4 separate regions of the Homo sapiens genome follow, and all the other regions are linked to region 1. Evidence: promoter capture Hi-C in 16 types of primary human blood cells and fetal thymus (Javierre and others, 2016). All regions are on one chromosome and are shown on one strand. The core of a region is centred on a gene start or on the middle of the fragment in contact, and the rest is flanking DNA. Distances in the headings are between cores, read along the strand shown.

What was found. The method cuts DNA at HindIII sites, captures the fragments that hold promoters and counts their contacts. A CHiCAGO score of 5 or more calls a contact.
Region 2: a fragment that was not itself captured here is called in contact with the fragment with the promoter of TRAM2 in region 1 in 2 of 17 cell types (non-activated CD4 T cells and naive CD4 T cells); the score reaches 5.5 in non-activated CD4 T cells.
Region 3: a contact is called between a fragment that was not itself captured here and the fragment with the promoter of TRAM2 in region 1, in 10 of 17 cell types (non-activated CD4 T cells, naive CD8 T cells, endothelial precursors and 7 more). The highest score is 10.6, in non-activated CD4 T cells.
Region 4: a contact is called between a fragment that was not itself captured here and the fragment with the promoter of TRAM2 in region 1, in 4 of 17 cell types (naive CD8 T cells, non-activated CD4 T cells, total CD8 T cells and 1 more). The highest score is 6.8, in naive CD8 T cells.

Annotation. Positions count from the first base shown.
Region 1 is chr6:52,575,610-52,578,309 of GRCh38, forward strand. It overlaps TRAM2 (translocation associated membrane protein 2), which reads right to left and starts at 1,451. Exons shown (of 11, transcript NM_012288.4): 1 at 1,187-1,451. The coding sequence starts at 1,306. TRAM2-AS1 (TRAM2 antisense RNA 1) reads left to right here and starts at 1,593. Exons shown (of 3, transcript NR_103446.1): 1 at 1,593-2,700. RefSeq lists a silencer at 1,164-2,023. The HindIII fragment of the contact is 3,868 bases long and covers 255-2,700 here.
Region 2 is chr6:52,335,246-52,337,945 of GRCh38, forward strand. No RefSeq gene overlaps it. Among named protein-coding and RNA genes, the nearest start is that of PAQR8, 26 kb to the right of the region's middle. RefSeq lists an enhancer at 1,872-2,041 and a cis regulatory region at 1,957. The HindIII fragment of the contact is 1,522 bases long and covers 655-2,176 here.
Region 3 is chr6:52,401,755-52,404,454 of GRCh38, forward strand. It overlaps PAQR8 (progestin and adipoQ receptor family member 8), which reads left to right. Exons shown (of 2, transcript NM_133367.5): 2 at 1,408-2,700. The coding sequence starts at 1,460. The coding sequence ends at 2,524. Among named protein-coding and RNA genes, the nearest start is that of EFHC1, 17 kb to the right of the region's middle. The HindIII fragment of the contact is 3,631 bases long and covers 1-2,700 here.
Region 4 is chr6:52,384,444-52,387,143 of GRCh38, forward strand. The region is part of intron 1 of PAQR8 (progestin and adipoQ receptor family member 8); the gene reads left to right. Among named protein-coding and RNA genes, the nearest start is that of PAQR8, 24 kb to the left of the region's middle. RefSeq lists an enhancer at 1,742-1,851. The HindIII fragment of the contact is 3,951 bases long and covers 1-2,700 here.

The DNA.
Region 1 (2,700 bases), core at 201-2,700:
TTCGTAGAGATACAGGGAACCCGAGACAGAGGGACAGGGAAGGAAATTTAGCCAGGCAAGCCATCCTCCATCTCCAAGGAAGTTTGTAAATGATCACAGCTTCCTAACCCAACCGTGAGAATGCAATAAGCAAGCTGACGCAGAAGGGAGGACAAGGAGTCTCAGGAACCAGAGGAGACCACGGTGAGAGTGAGGGGAATGTCGCTCACATATCTCACTTCTGAGACAAGATATACCGCAACAAACCCATGCCAAGCTTCCTCCAGTTCTTCCCACTTTTGAATATCACATTTTTCTTGCTCTGCAAGAGTAGGGAATCCTTCCCATCAGTCTTGTGAATTCTGACCCCTTGCTGGCTTTCTACAACTCCCTGCCTGGGAGGCCGACACCAGGACATTGCTGTTGGGGGTGGGATCCCCATCCTCTGCCCCCCACTCCTACACTATAAGAGAATCAACTTTCCCCAAAAAGTGGAGGGTATCCCTGTCTCTCTTCTTGTCTCTGTAAAGGGGGTGAAGCTCTGGGTCGCCGCAGATGGATCTAAAGGGACAGTTCACGGAGTGGTAAAGGATATCCAAAAATTGGCCTTCTAGAGCACAGCAAAAAAGTGGGAGCGAGACGAGAGCAGAAGGCCACTGCTGGGATGGGGCCAGGGCCACACGTGAACATCCGAGCACGTTCCAGAGCTGAGATGCAAAACACCCAGAAAATCACATAGGAAGTGGAAAAGGTTCTGGGTCTCTCCCACTGGAAAAGCCCAGAAGAGCTAGTGGCCACCCCTTGGGGCAAGAGGGGGTTGTGCAATGACTGCGGGTCTGGGAGTCTCTGGGCTTGGCTCCTGGACGCCAGAAAGGGAACCCCACGCGTCAAGCCATGGTGGCAGCGCGGCGGTTGGTTCGAGGCCAGGCTGGGGTTTCAGGGCTGCAGACAGAGCTGCAGGATACGATGAGTGCCCAAGGGGGCGGCAGAGCATGGCATGGCTGGCACGGCGCGGAGCTGGGGGTGCTGTCTGGGCTGGCCGGGGTACAGGCCGGAGGGGTACAGTGCACAAAGCCGGGGTGCAGATAACGTACACGGCAGCCAGGAGCCTCCGATCAGAGGAGGGCCCGCTGACCTGCAGGGGTGTGCCGGGCGGTGCACGACAGGGGGCACTGTCCCTCCAGCTCCCTCCTCCCCAGGCTCTCACCTCGAACATAAGCCCGATGAGGACGCAGAGCACCAGGCAGAAGCCGATGTCCGCATGGTTGTGGATGACGAACTCCTGGCTGAAGAGCGGGTAACTTTTCGTCCTCCTGCGGAAAGCCATGGCAGCGGGCGCGCAGCGGCCGGCGGGGCCCGCACCCTGCGCTCACGAACCGCAGCGCAAACTTCTCCAGCACCGGCCCGGTCCGCCCGCCGGCCCGCCGCCCGCTCTCCCACAGCCGCTCGCCCGCCCAGCGCGGAACAACTTCGGGGCCCGCCCCCTTCCTCCGCCCGCCCCCGGCCGCCCGTAACCGCCCCCGGCCGCAGCCCCCGCCCAGCCCCCGCCCAGCCCGCGGCCCGCACTCGGCGCGCCTGGCCCCGCCCCCCGCGGGCTTAACCCTCTAGCCGCTGGGCACGCGCGGGCTACCGGGGCGGAGGCGTACGGGGGCGGCGAGCGGGGCTCGGCTCCTCCTCGTCCCGCGCCAGCGCCGCGCCCGGCCGCATTCTCGGGGCCCGAGGCTCAGCCGCTCGCGGTGGAGAAAGCAGGCCGCGGAGGAGGCGGGCGCCCAGGCCTGCCCGGACAGGAAGTGGGCCCAGCTTTCCCACTCCTCGCTCCGCTCCTTCCTCCGCGGGAAGGGCAGGCCCCGGAGGCAGCGAGCGCCCCGGGGGTGGCCGGGCAGCCGGATGCTCCCGGGGTTGCGGGCTGTGGCCCCGGGGGCTGAGGGCGGCGCGGGTGCGGCGGAAGCAGGGAAGCCGCGAACCGGCCTTCTGGCTGGCCACAGCGCCCTGCACGGACGATCAGTGAATGGAGATTACTCAAGTATTTATCGAGAACTTGCAGTGGGCTAGGCACAGTTCAGGTAGATCAACAAACCGAAAGACCCTGCCCTAGGGGAGCTTTCGCTCCAATGCGGGGAGAGGGTGGATGATTGCAGTTTTGCCCAGTAATTTTTGGGACCCTCATGCCACCATTAATTAGCTACACACATTTCACCGAAAGTCTACCTTACATATTAATCAGAAGAAGTGGAAGAATAAACACAGAAGAAGCAAAAAAGGAAGGAACTTTCTCACTGAAAGTTTCTATTTAATATTAAGTCTTAAAAGTACTCCTGGAAGGACAAAAGGTGTTCTTAATAAATTATATTCGCAAATATTGGATTTAATCCTACCAGTAATGAAGCAGTCAGTTACTTTCTAGATGTGCAGAAATACGTAATGAACAAAAAAAACTAATTCCTATTCCATTTTTTATTAGGTCCACAGTTATTTCACTTCTAAATAAATATGGTTTTTTAAAAGTGGCACGCGGTGGAATGTAATTGAGACAGGATGGAGTTCCTAGAGAAATTTTACTTCCTCAATCTGCACTCCACCTTACTTAAAATACAGTCTTGGGTCTGTAATTCCCTTATCTGACTCTCAAGGAAATGACAAAGTAATGCCTAGATTGGACTAAACCTCATTTAACTTCAAGGCTGACCTTTCTCAAAGTTGAACCTTCGTCTTGTGAGGAAC
Region 2 (2,700 bases), core at 166-2,665, 240 kb before region 1:
CAGGCTCATCTATGCCATGAATGACAGGATTTTCTTCTTTTTTATTCCAACCCCTTTTCTTTGTTCCTTCTCATGGGAACACATCAATAAAGGCACCTACTGGTGGCCAAAGGGGGCTCTCTGATGCCACCACCCCATTCCCTATCCTACCCTTTATCCCATCCTTTATTCCTGTCAGAGACTAAACAGAGACAGGGGAATGAGTTTTCACTGTGGATTACTTAATTTTTTTAGGTCACAGTGTTCTAATCAGTAATCATCCATCTTTCTGTTACCTCATTCTGTGAGGCGAAGAATTTAAAGCCTGCTTGAATTCAAGGTCAGGCTGCCTTCTGCAGCTGGAGGCATCCCCAGCAGGCCAAGGCTTCACTCTCTCAGCTGGTGTCAGGGACCCTTAGGGAGTGGACAGAATAGCATGTGGAAAGAGGCAGTGTGACCAGCCTTGCCACCTGTTTCACAGGTGGCACTGCTGGCTGAGTCAGTCTGCTAAGGAGGACAGCCCTGGAACTGGTCAGAGAAGGCTTAGTAAATCTCTTCTGATTGCTAACCTCTGAGACCTCACAGCCTATAATTTCCCAAGACAGACCTGTTATTACAAACAGTCAACCTAGTAATCACTGCCCAAGCCCAGGTGTCCTGAAGAAGTAGGGTGGAAGCTTGCATTGAAAAAGGAAAATGATAAGGAGATATTTGCCCAGCAAAGATATTCTGTAGAACAGATAACATGGGCACATTGTACTGCCTTCCTCCATCTTCCCACAGCACCTACCAAAGTCCTGGCAAGCCATCAAATTAGGCTTATAGGTAGCTGCCCTTTCTGAAGGCTACATTCAAATTTTTCTAAAAGATAATTTGATTTCATTCAGTTCAACCCAGTGAGTTTATACATTTATTTTAGCATCTATTCTATGCTTGGTACTGTGAGGATGAGCCATGAATTAAAACATCAGGTCAGCGTATACTCGACACAGTTGTAGAAATGAGAACCTTTACTTTTTCACAGTGAAGACCGAGGAAGCTGAAAAGAATGCTTTTGGTTTTCTTCCCTCTACCCCAGACTCTCCCAAGGCCATACTTTTCTCTCTCTCTCTCACTCTGGGGGAAGAAATATTGAAATTTTTTATCTAAGGCTTTTTCCTAGAATTTGAACTGCATAGGGAACATTGCTTCATCATCAACATTTTCTTTCATTTTCAACCTCTTTCCACCTGCCCTAAAAACATGTTTGAATCTAACCCACCCCTACTGTTCTTTCTCTACCTTCATTTCTTCCTGGGATACAGTTTTTCATCTTTTGCTCATGCAATTAATTATTCATTCATTAATTTAACAAATATTTAGTGATGAACAGTATGAGTAAGGCCCTTTCCTACGCTGGAGACAAAAATGAATAAAGCCTTGTTCCTTTAATGAAGCAGTCCCTAACCTTTTTTGACACCAGGAACTGTGTGGCCTAAGTGAGTTACATATTCCCTCTGAGACTCAGTTTACCCTAAGATTCTGTTAACTGGGAATAACTATGTATTTGAGAGTTATTGTGAGGGTTAAATGATATATCGTGTGAAAAGCTCCTGTCACATGGTCAGTGCTAAACAAATATTAGTCACCTTTCCTTGCATGACACTATACATTCTTAGCTCTTTGCCCATTTCTCAGACTGCTTAACCTAGAATTTCTTTGCTGGATCTGTGTTATCCCTATCCCCCTGAATTGTAGGCATTACTTAATAGAAATTTGTTTTTGAGGGTTACCCAGGATCCCCTCACCAAAATTCCAGGGAAAGTTCAGGACTGTAGTTTGGAGACCCCGCCCCTTCCCACTTCCAGCACCATCCCTCATCCCCAGCCTGAGTGGTCTTGGGACAGCAGAAATGGGGGTGACATGTGACCCAGGTTTGGCCAATCAGAGCCTTGCATTCTCCTGAAAGAACAACGATTGGTTCAATGATGGGCACGACACTCCTCTAGACTTCTTTGCTTATATGAGCCGCGAATTCCTCTTTTTGCTTAAGCTCTTTGGATTGGGCTTTCTGACACTTAGAAGCAAAGGAGTTTGAACTGAGAGAGAAATAAGTTAACACTCACTCCTCATTCATTTAACAAATGCTTACTAAGCATCTTCCATTTACTAAACACTGTGCTAAGAAAGTGGCTAGACACCATCCCTATCTTCAAGAAGCTTATAGTTTCATAAGAGAAAAGTAAGTAGGTAATGACAATACAGTGCTATTGGAACTACAGAAAGGGGCTGTACCACACGCTCTTAAAGCCCATAGAGGGGACAATCTAAGTTGGTGTCATGGAAGGCTTTCCAGAGTGTATAATCTACATGGAGACCCAAAAGATACAAGGCCAGGCAATGATAAGGGGAGGGGTGAAGAATGTTTCATGCAGTGAGAAATGGTAAGCAAAGGCTTAGAGAAAATAGCACATGGCATTTTTGGAGACCTGTAAGAAGTGTAATAGTGTTCTAGGGAGAAGGTCAATCAAGAATCTAGAGAGGTAAGCAAGAGCTAAACCATGAAAGACTCTGTAAGCTTAAGGAGTTTCAGTGGCAATTTGAAAGCCTTTGAGCAGGCACGTAGGAGGAAATGGTCACCTACTGCTGCAAACACAAATGTGTCATCCATTCCCACAGCTGTAAATCTCCTCTACTTCTAGGTAGATTAGGTCCCAATCTATGTCTCGGGCCTTGTCTTGA
Region 3 (2,700 bases), core at 166-2,665, 170 kb before region 1:
CTCACCTCATATTTTCAAAGTACCAGTGAAATTAGTGGATAGTTTAAGATTAGGTAGGTGCTAAAGAAATACAGTCTATCATTAGCTATATCAATATTTGTAATTCTTATACTTCAATATGATATTTCATGCTATTAAAGCCTGTTTATTACATTTTAATATCGAGAAAAGCCCATATCCTTTAAAGGTTACCTTACTTATAATTAAATCTTGATAATCATTAAGTCATTGGTATCACTAAATTATGTTAGGGTAGCTAACATTTCCATTTTACAAGATGTAACTTTGCCTCACACTGAGTGTAGTAAACATAGAATATTGGGACAGGCCAGGCATGGTGGCTTAACGCCTGTAATTCCAGCACTTTTGGAGGATGAGGTGGGAAGATCATTTGAGGTTAGAAGTTCGAGACCAGCCTGGCCAACATGGTGAAACCCCATCTCTACTAAAAATATAAAAATTAGCTGGGTGTGGTGGTGCATGCCTGTAATACCAGCTACTTGGGAGGCTGAGGCAGGAGAATTGCTTGAACCCGGGAGACGGAAGTTGCAGTGAACCAAGATTGCGCCACTGCATCCCAGCTGGGCGACAGAGCAAGACCCTGTTTCAAAAAAAATCTTCGGGAGGCTGAGGTGGGCGGATCACCTGAGGTCGGGCGTTCCAGACCAGCCTGACCAACATGGAGAAACCCCATCTCTACTGAAAATACAAAATTAGCCAGGCGTGGTGGCACATGCCTGTAATCCCAGCTACTTGGGAGGCTGAGGCAGGAGAATTGCTTGAACCCGGGAGGCGGAGGTTGTGGTGAGCCGAGATGGTACCATTGCATTCCAGCCTGGGCAACAAGAGTGAAACTCTGTCTCAAAAAAAAAAAAAAAAAAGAAAGAAAGAAAAAAAAGAATATTGGGACAGTAAGGGATCTTGGTCCAACTCCATTATTCTACAGATGAATTAAAGGAGGCTCAAAGAAGCTGTCTGCAGCTCCTTGCTTCCTCTACTGTACCAGAAAGCCACGTTGCATTAAAATAACCACGGATCCTAGCCGGCCTGGTGGCTCACGCCTGTAATCTCAACACTTGGGGAGGCTGAGGAGGGAGGAGTGCTTGAGCCCAGGAGTTTGGGCCCAGCCTGCTGTACATAGCGACACCCCTGTCTCTACAACAACAGCAGCAACAAAAAATTATCCGGGCGTGTTGGCGTGCATCTATGGTCCTAGCTACTCTGGAGGATCACCTGAGCCCAGGAATTAGAGGTTGCAATGAGCTGTGATCGTGCCACTGCACTCTAGCCTGGGCGACAGAGTGATACCCCGTCTCAAAAGAAAAGAAAATAGCCATAGTTCCTTGTCCGTCTTAGCTGCATTCGTGTCTCACTGCGGCTTTGCCAATTTTCCTTTCTTTTCTGCAGGTTGCATACCCTGTCCTGAGGGCGCGGCACGGAGTGCATGCGGGCCGCTGCCATGACGACCGCCATCTTGGAGCGCCTGAGCACCCTGTCGGTCAGCGGGCAGCAGCTGCGCCGCCTGCCCAAGATCCTGGAGGATGGGCTTCCCAAGATGCCTTGCACTGTCCCAGAAACGGATGTGCCCCAGCTCTTCCGGGAGCCTTACATCCGCACCGGCTACCGCCCCACGGGGCACGAGTGGCGCTACTACTTCTTCAGCCTCTTTCAGAAACACAACGAGGTGGTCAACGTCTGGACCCATTTACTGGCAGCCCTGGCCGTCCTCTTGCGATTCTGGGCCTTTGCCGAGGCTGAGGCCTTGCCATGGGCGTCTACCCACTCCCTGCCTCTGCTCCTCTTCATCCTGTCGTCAATCACTTACCTCACCTGCAGCCTTCTGGCCCACCTGCTGCAGTCCAAGTCAGAGCTCTCCCACTACACCTTCTACTTTGTGGACTATGTTGGCGTGAGCGTTTACCAATATGGCAGTGCTTTGGCTCATTTCTTCTACAGCTCTGACCAGGCCTGGTATGACCGGTTCTGGCTTTTCTTCTTGCCAGCAGCTGCCTTCTGTGGCTGGTTATCTTGTGCTGGCTGTTGCTATGCCAAATATCGTTACCGGAGGCCTTATCCAGTCATGAGGAAGATCTGTCAAGTGGTGCCAGCAGGTCTGGCTTTTATCCTAGACATCAGCCCTGTGGCACACCGTGTGGCGCTCTGTCACCTGGCTGGCTGCCAGGAGCAAGCAGCCTGGTACCACACCCTCCAGATCCTCTTCTTCCTGGTTAGCGCTTATTTCTTCTCCTGCCCCGTGCCTGAGAAGTACTTCCCGGGTTCCTGTGACATCGTGGGCCATGGGCATCAGATCTTCCATGCATTTCTGTCCATCTGTACGCTCTCCCAGCTGGAGGCCATCCTCCTGGACTACCAGGGGCGGCAGGAGATCTTCCTGCAGCGCCATGGACCCCTATCTGTCCACATGGCCTGCCTCTCCTTCTTCTTCCTGGCTGCCTGCAGTGCTGCCACCGCAGCCCTTCTGAGGCACAAAGTCAAGGCCAGACTGACCAAGAAAGATTCCTGAGGCTGGCAAGTGGGGCAACGTGTGGAGGAAGCCCCTCATAATTTGGAGAAAACTTGATACAATAGAAGCTGACTTTTAAGGCATTGGCTTTTAAATTAATACATATATCCAAGGATATGTTATAGCTGCAGTGTTTGAAAGCCAAAGGATTTAAGAGTTTTGTTGTTGTTAATAAA
Region 4 (2,700 bases), core at 122-2,621, 190 kb before region 1:
CTGGGTTGGGTTTGTATTGGGATGGCAGTGAGTCCAAATGCAATGGGTCACTGAGAGAAGAAGAGTTGAGAGACTAGAGGTTATGAGACACCCAAAAAGTATCTTTAGCAGGTGTGATGAAATATTACAGGTGGAAGTTAGGAGTGTTGTAATCAAGGAGGAGGAATTTCAAACCTGAAATCTTGGAGCTAAAATAATTCTAAGTTAGAAAAAGAATACTATTCTGAAATTCATATGGAAACAAAGAGCCTAAATAGTGAAAGCAATCCTAAGCAAAAGGAACAAAGCCAGAGGCATCACATTACCCAACTTCAAAATACTACAAGGCTATAGTAACCAAAAGGCTACAGTAGCATGGTACTGGTACAAAAAAAGACACACAGACCAATGGAATAGAGAACCCAGAAATAAAGCTGCACGCCTACAATCAACTGATCTTTGATAAAGTTGACAAAAATAAACAATGGGGAAAGGATATCCTATTCAATAAATGGTGCTGGGAAAACTGGCCAACCATATGCAGAAGAATGAAACTGGTCTCCTACCTATCACCATATACAAAAATTAACTCACAATGGATTAAAGACTTAAATGTATGATATGGTTTGGCTGTGTCCCCACCCAATCTCATCTTGAATTGTAGCTCCTATAATGCCTACGTGTTGTGGGAGGGACCCGTTGGGAGATAATTGGATCATGGGGGCAGTGTCCCCCATACTGTTCTCGTGGTAGTGAATAAGTCTCACAAGATCTCATGGTTTTATTAGGGGAAACCCCTTTCACTTGAGAGGGGGAAACCCCTCTCATTCTCTCTCTACTGGCTGCCATATAAGACATCCCTTTTCTCTTCCATCGTCTTCTGCCATGATTGTGAGGCCTCTCCAGCCATGTGGAACTGTGAGTCAGTTAAACCTCTTTACTTTATAAATTACCTAGTCTCAGGTATGTCTTTGTCAGCAGCATGAAAATAGACTAATACAATGTAAGACCTCAAACTATAAACATCCTTCAAGAAAATCTAGGAAGTACCCTTCTCGACATAGGCCTTGGGGAAGATTTATAACTAAGTCCTCAAAAGCATCTGCAACAAAAACAAAAAATTGACAAGTGAGACCTAATTAAACTAAAGAGCTTCTGCAAAGCAAAAGGAAAACTATTGGCCATGCACCATGGCGTATGTCTGGAATTCTAGCACTTTGGGGGGCAAGGTGGGTAGATTGCCTGAGCCCAGGAGTTTGAGACCAGCCTGGGCAACATGGTGAAACCCCACTCTCTACAAAAAAATACAAAAAATTAGCTGGGCATCTGGTGTGCGCAGGTAGTCCCAGCTACTTGAGAGGCTGAAGTGGGAGGATCACCTGAGCCTGGAAAGGTTGAGGCTACAGTGAGCCATGATCACACCACTGCTCTCCAGTCTAGGTGACAGAGTGAGACCCTGTCTCAAAACAAAAAAGAAACTTTCAACAGAGGAAACAGACAACCTACAGAATGGGAGAAAATATTCATACATTATGCAGGGGTCTAATATCCAGCATCTATAAGGAACTTTAAATCACCAAGCAAAAAACAACTCAATTAAAAAGTGGGCAAAGGAAATGAGCAGACACTTCTCAAAAGAAGACAGACAAGTGGCCAAAAACATATGAAAAAATGCTCAACATCACTAATCATTAGAGAAATGCAAATCAAAACTACAACCAGATACTATCTCACACCAGTCAGAATGGCTATTATTTAAATTAAAAAAAAATAACAGGTGTTGGTGAGGCTGCAGAGGTTAGGGAACGTTTATACAGTGTTGGTGAGAATGTAAATTAATTTCAGCCACTGAAGAAAGCAGTTTGGAGATTTCTCAGAGAACCAAACACAACTACCATTTGACCTAGCAACCACATTACTGGGTATGTACTCAAAGGAAAACAAATTGTTCTACCAAAAAGACACATGTACTCATATGTTCATCACAGCACTATTCAAAAATAGCAAAGATCAACCTAGGAATGAACCTCAGTGCCCATCAACAGTGAATTGAATAAAGAAATTGTGGTATGTACACATAATGGAATACTGTGGAGCTGTAAAACAGAATTTGCAGCAACATTATCTTAAGTGAATTAATGCAGAAACAGAAAACCAAATACCACATGTTTTTACTTATAAGTAAGAGCTAAACATTGGGTATACATGGACATAGAGAAGGGAAAAATAGACACAGGACTACAAGAAGGGAGAAGGAGGGACCGGGGCAAGGTTGAAAAACTACCTGTTGGGTACTATGCTCACTACCTGGATGATGGACTCAGTCATACCGCAAACCTCAGCATCATGCAATATACTCTTGTAACAAACCTGCACATATACCTCCTGAATAGAAAAGAAAAGTTGAAAAATTTTTAAAATGAAGTAATTCTGAGTGATAAACAATCACAACCTTTGTAGATACTACAGGTTAGGCAGGTAGGTAATTGTAATATCATGGAGATGAAAGCTGTAGCTTTGTGATAGTTTACAATTACTGATCTGAACTGAGTAGATTGACTTTTCAAATGAAGCTCTTCTATGGAATAACTAATGATTTTTTTTTTTGAGACGGAGTCTCACTCTGTCACCCAGGCTGCAGTGCAGTGGCACAATCTTGGCTCACTTCTCTGCAACTGATTATTAATTACTACTTCTAATTACAGAAAAGGCCACACTGGG